4 separate regions of the Homo sapiens genome follow, and regions 2, 3 and 4 are each linked to region 1. Evidence: promoter capture Hi-C in 16 types of primary human blood cells and fetal thymus (Javierre and others, 2016). All regions are on one chromosome and are shown on one strand. The core of a region is centred on a gene start or on the middle of the fragment in contact, and the rest is flanking DNA. Distances in the headings are between cores, read along the strand shown.

Region 1 (3,209 bases), core at 304-2,803:
CAATTCCTTCTCAATAGAGACTCTAGGACCAGAGCTCCCTTTATCACCTCCATCCTAACATACCTAATTGTTTCAGAAAGTTACCTTTTAAAACAAGATCTTCTACCAGAATAGAAGACCTCTCTGCTGGTCCTCGAATTTAAATAAATTCAATTTTCACACGATAACCTGCCTGATAGCATTCCAAAACATTCGTTACCACTGCAGTTTCAAGTTATTTTGTAGTGAATTGTGAACTAAATCTTGATTAAATTGCGGTAAAGATGGGAAACAAAAATCTATGTTTAGACAGGTTTCCTATCTAAAATTTTCCATTACGAGCTTAGGAAAAACAAAACCTGTACACTCAACATTTTAAATCTGTTTCTAACTGAACAAGATGATAGGTGATGCAATGAGGCTTAACTCTATCATGTAATTGCCACAAAACACTAACATTGTAAAACATTCAATACTTTAAATTACTGAATATTCTTTTTAAAGAAGTTGAATATTGTAAGAATTATTTAGCTTCTGGAGTTTAACACTTACAACATTAAAAAAAGGTTTCTAAGAGGAATAAGGTCTCATCTGAAAACAGGGTTTAAAAAAAAAACCGTATAAACATTGATACATGTCCAAAAACATTTCCCATCGTAAGGTATTATTTCTAATACTAAAGGCAAAACAAATTAAAACAGATCAAACATTTGCAGTCAAATGTCCAAATTTTTGAACTGGGAAAATGATGTCAACGTTTTTCATCCGTTTTCTTGTAAGGTTCCAGATCAAAAATAAACAGCCATCGGGCTCATCAATTCAGGTGCGGAAACTCATTAAAATCGAGCTTTTGGAGGGGAGAAAACATATTCCCAGAATTTGGTTTATCGGGTAAAATTGCCCCGTGGCCCACACCAGAAACCTCGGGCAACTGCCCGGGCCTTGCCCACCCCTCCCGCGGGCCGCACCTGCCAAGGCCGCACCGCCAGCGCCCCCTGCCGCCCTCTCTGCACAGAGACCCGCGCCCACCCCCGCACCCGCACCCGCACCCGCACCTGCCCCCACCCCGCGCTCGCCCCGCGCCGAGGCCGCGCAGCCTGCGGGCAGTGGCGGGGGCACGAGGATGCGAATCCAGGCGGGGCCGGGAGCTGGGCGCGTCCCCCAGAACCCCCGCCACGGCCAGGCCTGAGCCTCACCTACCTACGCCGTATTTCTCCTCCTCCGTGGGGGTCCACATGGCCGTGCCGGGCGCGGCCCCGCGGGCGCGGCGACCGGGCGACAACGCGGCGGGGACGGCCGCGGGCCCGGCTGTGGCGCACCGCGAGTCGAGGCGGGGACGGTCAGGCGGCGCGGGGCAGTGGGCGGCGCATCCCTCACAGGCCGTCCGGGATGCCGCCGCCACCCCCGCCACGTCTGGACCGCGAGGCTCCGCGGGTGGCCCAGCAGCCCCTGGCGGCGCGGGCGAAGGCTCGCCACCTGTCCGTCGCCGCTGCTCCCGTGCCGCCGCTTGCTTCTTCACAGCTCCGCCGCCCGGCTCCCGGCGCCGCCGCGGCTCGGCTCGCCCCAGCGGGCTCGCAGGACGCCCGCGCATGCGCCACTCCCTGCCGCGCAGGGGCTCGCGCTGCCCGGGCTCGCGCCGTCCCGAGCCCGCGCGCGAATCCACGCGCCGCTGCTGCGCGCCAGCGGAGGGAAATCCGCGAGAAGCTATTGGACTGCCCGGCCCCGGACCGGCTTCTAGAATCGCTGGTCCGGGGCCCTCAGCTGCAGCAAACCCCGGAGGGGGCGAAGCCGGTCAGGTGGGCGACTCCCTCTACCCGGACTCCCCACTCGCTTCCGCTTCCAGTGCCTCCTGCCTGCGCCCCGAGATGGCCACAGGCCTCCTGGTCGGAGAGGGGAGATCCAGAAAAGGAGGACACGACACCATTTTCAGACCCATCCCAGTGTCACCCACAGTGCTGTCGGAAAGGTCCCCGGAGCCACCCTGTGCATTCCCAGGGCCCGCAGGATGGAGTCGCCACGAGGGAACCAGGTGGGGTGCACTCGTGCCCCTCTCTCCTGGATCCCCTGTGGGCTGAGGCCGCTGACACCTCCTGGGTTCTTGCTTCTCTGAGATGGCCTGAGTGGTGAATGTTTGGGGCCAGAACAATCAACAGCCGCCTTGCTAGTAAGGAAGAGCTTCATTGGGCCCTTCGTGTTCCTACCCAGGACACGGCATCTGCTGCTCCTGGGTGTCTGCCTCCCTTGGAGCCCTAAGAACTGGCTCCTACCGGAAACTTTCCTCCTCTCTCTCCTCCCTAAGAATCCATTCATTCTGATGCCTGTAAATGTCACCTTGTGACCCCCAAGTCAACCACTTACCAAAGAACAGGAACTGCAGGACTTCTCCTTTCCACCTACATTTGGACCACATGCTCTAATCCCAGCAGATTTGCCCATCTCTGTCACTAGCACTACTAAGTCAAAACCCTGGTGTCATCCTTCACTAGCACTCTCAGACACCACCACTCTTCAAAGCCCAGCTCAGCCCCTCACCTCCAGGAAGCCTGCCCTGACCCATAGTCTCCTTTCCTTCTTTGTCTGGAATTGGAGCTATGTTCGGTTTGTCTTATTTCCCTTATAAGACTGTCAGCTCCCAGAAGGCAAGCTCCAGGCTAAAATCAACTTTCTAAACCCTCACCACCAACCCAGCACCTGTTGTATAGTTGTTGCATGGGAAGCCAGACTAATAGAAGAATATCTTGCAATCAACAGATCTTGTTGATTCTTCGTTCAAAGTGTCATGATTGGTAACTCCTCCCAGGCCTGACTGTGCTCCCCTGGGTTATGGCCACCCCTTCCCACCTTCGGACCTTTAGGCTCCTCCTCTCACTAATCATAGCTGCCCACTCCCGCCCAGAAAAATGTCTGTTCTGTGAATGATAGAATTTCTCAATAGCCAGGTACACTTCTTTTTAGGGGTAGCAGGGGTGTCCAAGAACATAACGAAAGAGCTAACTGTTCCAAGAAGATAGACCCCTCCCCGGTGGCCACCATGGAAGTATTCTATGGAATGAAGCCACATTCTTACAAAACTCTCCAGGTAGCTATTCAACAAGTGGGGCTGAGCTACGCAGGCCTTCAGGGAACAACCTTAAAGCTCTTATTTCATCCTCTAAGTTCACTCCCTTGTCTGCTGTATGTGATGACAGTCACAGAGCCTAAGGGCCAGTTTTTCCAAAGTTTATACTCTT
Region 2 (3,319 bases), core at 761-3,260, 170 kb before region 1:
CAAGAATTTCATATCCTGCCAACTAAGCTTCATTAGCAAAGGGGAACCAAAATCTTTCCCAGACAAGCACGCACTAAGGAAATTTGTTACCACTAGTCCAGGCTTACAGGAGATCCTTAAGAGTTCTAAACATGGAAACAAAAAGAGCGATACCTGCTGTCACACAACCACACTTAAGTATATAGCCTATAAAGCAACTACACATTAGAAACTAAAAAGCAGCCAGCTAACAACTTCACGATAGGATCAAAACATCGCATATCAGTATTAATGTTGAATGTAAATAGTCTAAACACTCAACCTAAAAGGCAAAGAGTAGCAAGTTGAACAACAACAACAAAAAGACCCATCTGTCTGCCATCTTCAGGAGATCCATCTCAGATGTGACAACACCCATAGGCTCAAGGTAAAGGGCTGAAGACAGATCTACTATGCAAATAAAAAACAAAAAAGATCAGGGGTTACTATTCTTATATCAGATAAAAGAGACTTTAAACCAACAACAATAAAAAAAGGACAAAGAAGAGCGTGATATAATGATGAAGAGTTGAATTCAACAAGACTTAACTATCCTAAATACATAGGCACCCAACAATGGAACACACAGATTCCTAAAATAAGTACCTCTAGACCTACGAAAAGACTTAGACAACCTCACAATAACTGTGGGGGATTTTTTTTTTTTTTTTTTTTTGAAATGGAGCCTCGTTCTGTCACCCAGGCTGGAGTGCAGTGGCACAATCTCGGCTCACTGCAACCTCTGCCTCTGGGTTCAAGCAATTCTCCTGCCTCAGCCTCCTGAGTAATTGGGACTACAGGTATACACTACCATGCCCGGCTGATTTTTGTGTTTTTACTAGAGATGGGGTTTTACCATGTTGTCCAGGCTAGTCTTGAACTCCTGGCCACAAATGATCTGCCCACCTCAGCCTCCCAAAGTGCTAGAATTACAGACATAAGCCACTGCACTTGGCCATAGTGGGGGATTTCAATATCCCACTGACAGCATTAGATCACTGAGACAGAAAACTAACAAATAACATCTGGATTTAAACTCAACACTTGACTAGTCAGACCTAACAGACATGTACAGAATACTCCACCCATCAACCACGGGACATTCTCAGATTTTTCTCATCTACAGAAGAGAATGGAATCAGAACATATTCCAAGATTGACCACATGCTCAACCATAAAGCAAGTTTCAATAAATTCAAAAAAATGGAAGTCATACCAACTATACTCTCAGGTCACAATGGAATAAAAACAGGAATGAATACCAAGAAGATTGCTCAAAACCACATAATTACATGGAAATTTAAAAACTTGCTCCTGAATGAATGTTGGGTAAACAACAAAATTAAGGCAGAAATCAAAAAACTCTTTAAAATAAATGAGAACAGACACAACATACCAAAACCTCTGGTATGAAGCAAAAGCAGAGTTAATAGGCAAGTTTATAATGCTAAACACCTACCTCAAAAAGTTAGAAAAAAAAATAGCAATTACACCTGAAGGAACTAGAAAAAACAAGAACAAAGTAACCCCAAAGATAGCAGAAGAAAACAAATAACTAAAATCAGAGCAGAACTGAACAAAATTGAGAACCCAAAATCCACACAAAGAATCAACAAGATTGATGGACTGCTAGGTAGATTAAGAAAGAAAAAAGAGAAAAGATCCAAATATGTACAATCAGAAATGACAAAGGTGACATTATAGCCAATCCCACACAAATACGAAAGATCCTCAAACACCATTAGGAACACGTAGAAGATCTACAGCAAATTGGAAACTAGAAAATCTAGAGGAAATGGATAAATTCCTGAAAACACACAAGATCCCAAGATTGAATCAGGAAGAAACTGAAACCCTGAACAGACCAATATCAAGTTCAAAAATTGAATCAGTAATAAAAAACCTATCAACCAAAGCAAGTCCTGGACCAGACAGATTCACAGCCAAACTCTATTAGATGTACAAAGAAGAGCTGCCACCAATCTTACTGAAACTATTCCAAAACATCAAGGAAGAGGGACCCTTCCTTAACTCATTCTACTAAACCAATATCATCCTAGCACCAAAATCTTACAAAGACACAACAAAAAGAGAAAACTATAGGCCGATATCCCTGAACGCAGACCAAAATCCTCAACAAAATACTAGTAACCTGAATCCAGCAGCACATCAAAAGATAATTCATCACAGACTGTTGCCCCAACACCTTTTCCCCTTTGCTGGTTTTTCTTTCTATTTTTTCACTGTAATAATTCATAACTGTGAGTACAACTATATGCCCCTATTCAGTACTCATTCTACTCCACAGTACCTGAAACCATTAATTACCCCTGTTTTTAAAAAATGTTCTCCTTGGCCAACTATGACCTCCATTAGTCTTTTTTTGCCAGTTCCTCTTTCTCTGTCCTCCAAAGTGTTGGCAGTCTTTACAGTCTCATTTGCAGTGCTATTCTTTAATAGTAAAAGACGATAGTGCAAAAGAATTATCACGTTCTTATGTGCTAGGCACTGCAATAACGGTTTCATATCAACTCATTGATTCCTCATTACAATTCCATGAGATAAGTAATAACCCATTTCAAATACAGACAAAATTAGACAACAGTATAATGAATCTCCACAAATCCATCACTCAGCTTCAACAATTATCAACATTTTGCCAATCTTGACTCATCAATCTACATACATTTTACCCATTATAGTATTTTTAGAGAAAATTTCAGAAATTATCCACAAATACTTCAATATTTACCTTAAATATTCAAGGAGGTTCAATCGCTTGAACCTCTGCCTCCCAAGTTCAAGCGATTCTCTTGACAGTAAATATCTTCAATATTTACCTTTTGTTTTCCTGATAAACCCTATTTTATAGTTATACTGTATGACAGTAATGGGTCCACATCTCTGTTGAATGACAGATTCCCTGTTGCCAAAGTGTAAATTCCTTAGATTTCTTTGGCGTATGACTCTAAATATATAGGTCCAATCTGCCTTTCCTGCCTTACCATCCATCACTCTCTCCTGCACTATGCCTTACCCAGCTTAAAATATTTACTATTCCATGAATATGTCTTGCAATTTTTTGCTGTGCAAAACATTCCATAAGGCCCTGTTCCTATCTCACAGAATACTACGCATTCTGTTCACAATTATTGATAAAAGCTGATCCTGAAATCACAAAATGGAAGTAAATATAAACTGTACTGAATTTCATTATTCCTCTTGAGCATATATTTTATAAAAAGCACAAAAATAAAATCAAGTATCTGTTGTCCTTTTTTCTCAATTTTATGTCTTATTC
Region 3 (3,242 bases), core at 333-2,832, 250 kb before region 1:
GTATTGAGAACATTCTAAATCTTCTCTTCTAGCTATTTTGAAATATACAATAAATTATTGTTAGCTATAGACATCCTGTTGTGCTATCAAACGACTAGATCTTATTCTATCTAGCGGTATTTCGGTACCCACTAACCAATCCCTCCTCATCCCCCACTCCCCACTGCCCTGTGGGAGCATCCAGTTTTAAGTCAGTGAGGGGAAGGAAGGAGGCAGAAATAAATACTGTAGTCAAGGTATGTTTCACTGAGAAGATTTCAGAAAAGGCCTGAAGGAAGTGACAAAGCTAATCCCAAGCATAAGAAACAATAGAAGCCTCAAGGCAGGAGCATACCTGAAATGACTGAATAAAAGCAAGAAAACCAGTGTCACTGAAGGTTACAGGGTGACAGGAAGTCACATCATAAAACTTGTAAGCCTTTGTAAGAACTTCAATGTTTGCTCTGTGTGAGACGGGAGTCGCTAGAAGGTTTTAAGCAGAGGAGTAACATGATCTAACATATTTTTAAAGAACAACTCTGGCAGTTATGTTGCACTATAAACTGCAAGGGAACATGGATAGAAACAGGGAGACCAGTTAGAAGGTGGTGCTGTAACACAGGCAAGAAACTATAACCCCAGAATGTACTTGTTTTTCATTCCATGACATAATGTGACAATTTAGGACACTGAGTTTCTCCTTCTTCTTCTCAGCTGTCTAATGCTGTACCAACTCCACCCAACAGTCCATAACGTGCTCACATCTTTCCTACTGTTCCTTAGCAGCTGACTCTCAACAACTCTCACCATCTTGCTATAGTGGGCACCCATGCTAATTCCCTTTCAAGTCCCACTTTCATCTAACTGAAGCCCCAGATCTCTAACCCTCTCTGGTTATGATAATGTCAAGGTTCCTGTAACACTTATAAATAAAATATGCATAACTAGAAGCACAGTCTAATATTGTCTCCATCCTAGAGAAAAGCATGAGACTGAGTTTGAGAAAAGCTTTGGTAAATAGACCAAGAATGAGGTCATAGAATGAATTAAATAAATGGATGAACAAACGAATGAACAAATTAATAGGCAAACTTTTTTAAAAAACCCTTGGCCTGTATGCTCAAAAGCAAGAAATCTTCCAGGTACTGTTGATCTACTGATTCTCCCTTTAACTAAGAGTTAACAAATCTAGCAGATGTAGAATGGATATATAAAAATTGGTTACATGAATTGGAATTATCTTGGCATACCCAACTAAATTAATGTCAAGAGACTGCATCAGGGGAGGAGAGAAGCACTCGGGCACAAAGCACCTGTCCAAGGGTTATATCACAAGCCAGCTGCCAAAATGGCCTGCTATAACTTTGGGAGGCCAAGGTGGGTGGAGCACTTGAGGTCAGGAGTTTGATACCAGCCTGGCCGACATGGTAAAACCCTATCTCTACTAAAAATACAAAAGTTAGCCAGGCTTGGTGGTGCGTGCCTTGTAATCCCAGCTACTCAGGAGGCTGAGGCAGGAGAATCACTTGAACCCGGGAGGCAGAGGTAGCAGTAAGCCAAGATTGTGTCATTTGCACTCCAGCCTGGGCGACAGAGTGAGACTCTGTCTCAAAAAAAAAAAAAAAAAAAAAAAAGACTAGTTTTACCTAGTAGCTGCTGAAATGAACTGCCATGACTTTAAGAACAGTTTTACCTACCGCCATCACTCACCCAACCAATCAGAGCTTGCCAGCTCCCAAAAACTTCACTAGTGTTAGTAAGTTTTCTTTCAAAACAATATGTAACATTTCTCTAATAAAACCCCAACCTTCTGTTTCTTCTTCGGACACAAAGAAGACTACCCTGTCTGTGTGTATGCCCTGAATGGCCATTCTGCTTTCCTAAATAAAACTTTTTTTTTTTAAGGAGGCAGAGTCTTGCTATGTTTCCCAGTCTGGAGAGCAGTGCCTATTCACAGGCATGATCATAGTGCACTATGGCCTCAAACTCCTTGGCTCAAGCAATCCTCCTGCCTCAGCCTCCCGAGGACCCAAGACTACAGGTATGTGCCAATATGCCTGGCCTTCCAAATAAAATGCTTTGTCTAGAGATTTGTCATTTATTTGACTTTGACAGATGGATGAGACAATCTGATATACATAAAATACTACTTGCAAGAATAATATCTAATCAGGAAACCAGGACTGCAAAAAGCTTAATGCTCACTTTTTTGATGCTCATGCAAGAGTTCATTTTCTCTTTCAGCTTCATCACTCATATAGCCAAAAATCAAACTCAAGTTTTGATCCTAAGGATTGCTGAATTACAAGATCAGTTGAATTCATGGCCTTTTCATTAAAATTAAGATAAAAGGCAGGGTAGTGACATAAAAATAACAGTAACCTGTGAATCAGAATGGAGATAGAATAAAGACATGGGATAACTTAGGAAAGTCTGAGCTCCACCCCTAGTAAACCTCCTTTTGGCATCAGAAAAAGTCCCTCCTTCTGGGCTGATGAGGGTATCCTTGCCTTGCTTACATGCTGTGAGACTACATCACCTGAGTGAATTATCTTGCAAAGAGAAGCCCATTTTCCTTAGACCATACACCACCCGCATAATTGTCCCCAGTGTCCTGTAAATTCAATCTGTTTACTTTCCCAGCCATCCTGAAAAGAATGCTGTGAAAGAAATAGCAGCTATAGAGGAGCTCAACTCCATGAACTTTCCCTCACCAAGGCTGATCTGACACCACAACTGCTGAATCAGAACTGACCGGTAGCAGTGGGCAACCCTGAGACTTGGATGTGGTACACATATTCCAAGTGGATTAGCCAACTGCCTACAGGCAAGTTCATACTTTTGACCCCATTCATGACAAAGAGGATGAGATTTGGACTTACTTTCCCTGGCTGCTTCATTTCTGGAAACATAACCTTCAGTAGACTATTCAATACCCTATTTGCCATAACACTGTTGCATATAAAACTGGAATATGAGCAAGGAACTCATTTTAAACACAAAGAAGGAAGATAAGGAGCTGACACTCACAGATTAACTGATCTTACTAATTACTTCATCATCCAGAGCAACAGACTGTATAGAACAATAGACAAGACTATAGAAGACTTTGTTATGCTAGCTTTTTTAATGATGGGGCAATCCACAAATTGCGACAATTATTCTGAACCAGTAACTAATATAAAGTTATGTTTCTCCCATAACCACAATACATGGGTCCAGAAACATGAAGTAGAAATGTAAAAGACAACTTCTCATTCTCA
Region 4 (3,047 bases), core at 445-2,944, 200 kb before region 1:
ATTCCTCTGGAGGAGAAGAGACGCTCTGATTTTTAGAATTTTCAGCTTTTCTGCTCTGGTTTCTCCCCATCTTGGTGGTTTTATCTACCTTTGATCTTTGATGATGGTGACGTACAGATGGGGTTTTGGTGTGGATGTCCTTTCTGTTTGTTAGTTTTCCTTCTAACAGTCAGGACCTTCAGCTGCAGGTCTGTTGGAGTTTGCTGGAGGTCCACTCCAGACACTGTTTGCCTGGGTATCACCAGCGGAGGCTGCAGAACAGCAAATATTGCAGAACGGCAAATGTTGCTGCCTGATCCTTCCTCTGGAAGCTTCGTCTCAGAGGGGCACCTGGCTGTATTTGGTGTCAGTCAGCCTCTATTGGGAGATGTCTCCCAGTTAGGTTACTCCCAGTTAGCCAGGCGTGGTGGTGCAGGCCTGTAATCCCAGCTACTCAGGAGGCTGAGGCAGGAGAATTGCTTGAACCCAGGAGGCGGAGGTTGCAGTGAGCTGAGATCACGCCACTGCACTCCAGCCTGGTGACACAGCGAGACTCCAACATAAAAAAGAAAAAGAAAAGAAAAGAAAAGAAAAGAAAAGAAAAAGTGGCTGCCATTGAAGCCCTAGATAATGGTGCACTACAGAAAGCCACTGTCTTGTTCAGAGATGCCATCAAGCTGAATCCTCGCTTGACCATTCTGTATGTCAACACAGTCAGTATCTTCATCACATTACAGAAGCCAAACACTGCCATTCGAGACTGACAGAACAAATGAAATAAATTCTGATTTGGCTCAGCCTTATAAGTGGTGAGGGAAAGCACACAGATTTCTGGGCCATTGGAAAGAAGCAGCTATAATCTTGACCCTGACCATAACTGGATTATGATGAAGATACTAGTACAATGCTGAAAGAAGTTCAACTGAGGGCCAAGAAAATTGCACAACATTAGAAAAAGGTTGAATAGAAATATCAAGAGTAAGAAATCAAAGAAAGAATAAAAAGGGTTAAGAAGGCTCCGTAAGATCATGAGAGAGCTCAGAGGGAGAAAGAAGCCAGATGACATTCAGGAGCTCAGTATGGCTCTTTTCCAGGTGGCTTTCCCAGGGGGAATGCCTGGTAATTTTCCTGGAGCAATGCCTAGAATGGCAGAAATGCCTGGATGCAATGAAATTCTTAGTGATTTAGAGCAGGAGTGTTCAATCTTTTGGCTTCCCTGGACCACACTCAAAGAAGAATTGTCTTGGGCCACACATAAAATACAGTAACACTAACGAGAGCTGATGGGCTTTTTAAAAAAATTGCAAAAAATCTCATAATGTTTTAAGAAAATTTACAAATTTGTGTTGGGCCACATTCAAAACTGTTCTGGGCTGCATATGGCCCATGAGTTGGACAAGCTTGACCTAGAGGTTCTTGCAGCCATGCAGGAAACAGAAGTTACAGTGATCTTCTAGGATGTGGCCCAGAACACAGCAAATATGTCAAAACACCAGAGTAACCAAAAAAATTATGAATCTCATCAGTAAATTGTCAGCCAAATTTTTAAAGTGAAGGAAAATGTCCTTTGGACAAGTAAAAGGCCCTAGGTGAAGGAAAAGCAAACTAGATCACCTAATAAATGTTACAATAATACAAACCGGTGTACCTCTGATCAAGACAACTAGAAGGCTTTCAAGATCATCTCTACCCCTCTTCCCCAAATGCAGCTGAATATTTTACTGTGGTTTGCCATTAGGATATTCATTCAAATCATGTGTTCCTGCTAGAAATTACAAACTATAATAAAATACTAAATATTTATTCACTAAATATTTATACTGAATAAAATACTAAATATTTTAAACCTTAAAATATTTAAAACAAAAGGATTTGTTAGTTCATATATTTTTCTTTAATAATCATTTTGTATTTTTCCTTTATTAGGCAAGAAAGATACTTAAGTATGGAAGATTTATTGCTCTGGTTTTAGTGAAACACAGGTTTACAAATGGGAGGCAAATAAAACTAATTTAAGTAGATAAAGCTTGAGTTGAATACATGACTACTGAGGAATTTTGATTTCTCTTTTTAAATGGTTTTTTAACATGAATAATTCTGATAAAAATATTGATATTCCAGTATTTCAACAGAACCTGAGGAACAGGTTCTGTTTCTCAGAAACAGACTGGAAATACTTGGTATAGCAGCAGTAATCTTATTATGTTTTACATAGCATGCACCCTCTTGTCAGTTGCATTTAAACCTTACACGATGGTAAAGAATTTTTTTTAATGCTCCAGTAGAGCTGGATTATTCAGCTCTGTTCTTGTTCAATATATCATGAAAATGTTTCATATTATCTCAACAGCGAACAGGCGAAGACTCTCAAAACACAACAGTTGTTTTTTTTTTTTTAATTCAAAAATTAAAGAGGAAGAGATGATTGCAACTTCATTCTATGAGGCAAGCACTGCTCTGATACCAAAATCAGACAGGGACACAACAAACAAGAAAACTATAGGCCGATAATCCTGATGAATATAAATGCAAAAATCTTCTACAAAATATTAAATACTCAAATTCAACAACATATCAAAAACATCATTCATCGTGATCAAGTGGGATTCATCCCAGGGAATCAAGGATGGTTGAACATGTGAAAATCAATAAACATGATATATCACATCAACAAAATCAGAGACAAAACCCATATCATCATTTCAATGGGTGCTGAAAAAGCATTTGATAAAGTTCAAAATTCCTTCATGATAAAACCTCTAAACAAACTGGGTATGGAAGGAATTTACCTGAACACAATAATGGCCACATATAACAAACCCATAGCTAATATCATACTGAAGGAACAGGGAAAAATTGAAAGTCTTTCCAAAGAGATCTCAAACAAGACAAAGATAAGACTTCCACCACTTTTATTTAACATAGTACTACAAGTCTTAGCCAGCACAAACAGGCAAGAGAAACAAGTGAAAGGGTACCCAAACTGGAATTTTAAAAGCCAAATTATCCTTGTTTGCAGACAACATAATTTTTTTTTTAATTTTACTTTAAGTTCTGGGATACATGTG

What was found. The method cuts DNA at HindIII sites, captures the fragments that hold promoters and counts their contacts. A CHiCAGO score of 5 or more calls a contact.
Region 2: a contact is called between a fragment that was not itself captured here and the fragment with the promoter of DOCK3 in region 1, in 1 of 17 cell types (M2 macrophages). The highest score is 5.5, in M2 macrophages.
Region 3: a fragment that was not itself captured here is called in contact with the fragment with the promoter of DOCK3 in region 1 in 1 of 17 cell types (M2 macrophages); the score reaches 6.7 in M2 macrophages.
Region 4: a contact is called between a fragment that was not itself captured here and the fragment with the promoter of DOCK3 in region 1, in 1 of 17 cell types (M2 macrophages). The highest score is 6.5, in M2 macrophages.

What each region holds. Positions count from the first base shown.
Region 1 is chr3:50,673,271-50,676,479 of GRCh38, reverse strand. DOCK3 (dedicator of cytokinesis 3) reads right to left here and starts at 1,553. Exons shown (of 53, transcript NM_004947.5): 1 at 1,180-1,553. The coding sequence starts at 1,216. MIR4787 (microRNA 4787) reads right to left here and starts at 1,400; the gene lies at 1,317-1,400. RefSeq lists a silencer at 1,300-1,589. The HindIII fragment of the contact is 16,225 bases long and covers 1-3,209 here.
Region 2 is chr3:50,845,258-50,848,576 of GRCh38, reverse strand. All of the region lies in intron 3 of DOCK3 (dedicator of cytokinesis 3), which reads right to left. Among named protein-coding and RNA genes, the nearest start is that of MIR4787, 170 kb to the right of the region's middle. The HindIII fragment of the contact is 3,962 bases long and covers 30-3,319 here.
Region 3 is chr3:50,924,196-50,927,437 of GRCh38, reverse strand. All of the region lies in intron 4 of DOCK3 (dedicator of cytokinesis 3), which reads right to left. Among named protein-coding and RNA genes, the nearest start is that of MIR4787, 250 kb to the right of the region's middle. RefSeq lists a silencer at 2,486-2,780. The HindIII fragment of the contact is 1,185 bases long and covers 990-2,174 here.
Region 4 is chr3:50,875,187-50,878,233 of GRCh38, reverse strand. All of the region lies in intron 3 of DOCK3 (dedicator of cytokinesis 3), which reads right to left. It also overlaps the pseudogene ST13P14. Among named protein-coding and RNA genes, the nearest start is that of MIR4787, 200 kb to the right of the region's middle. The HindIII fragment of the contact is 626 bases long and covers 1,382-2,007 here.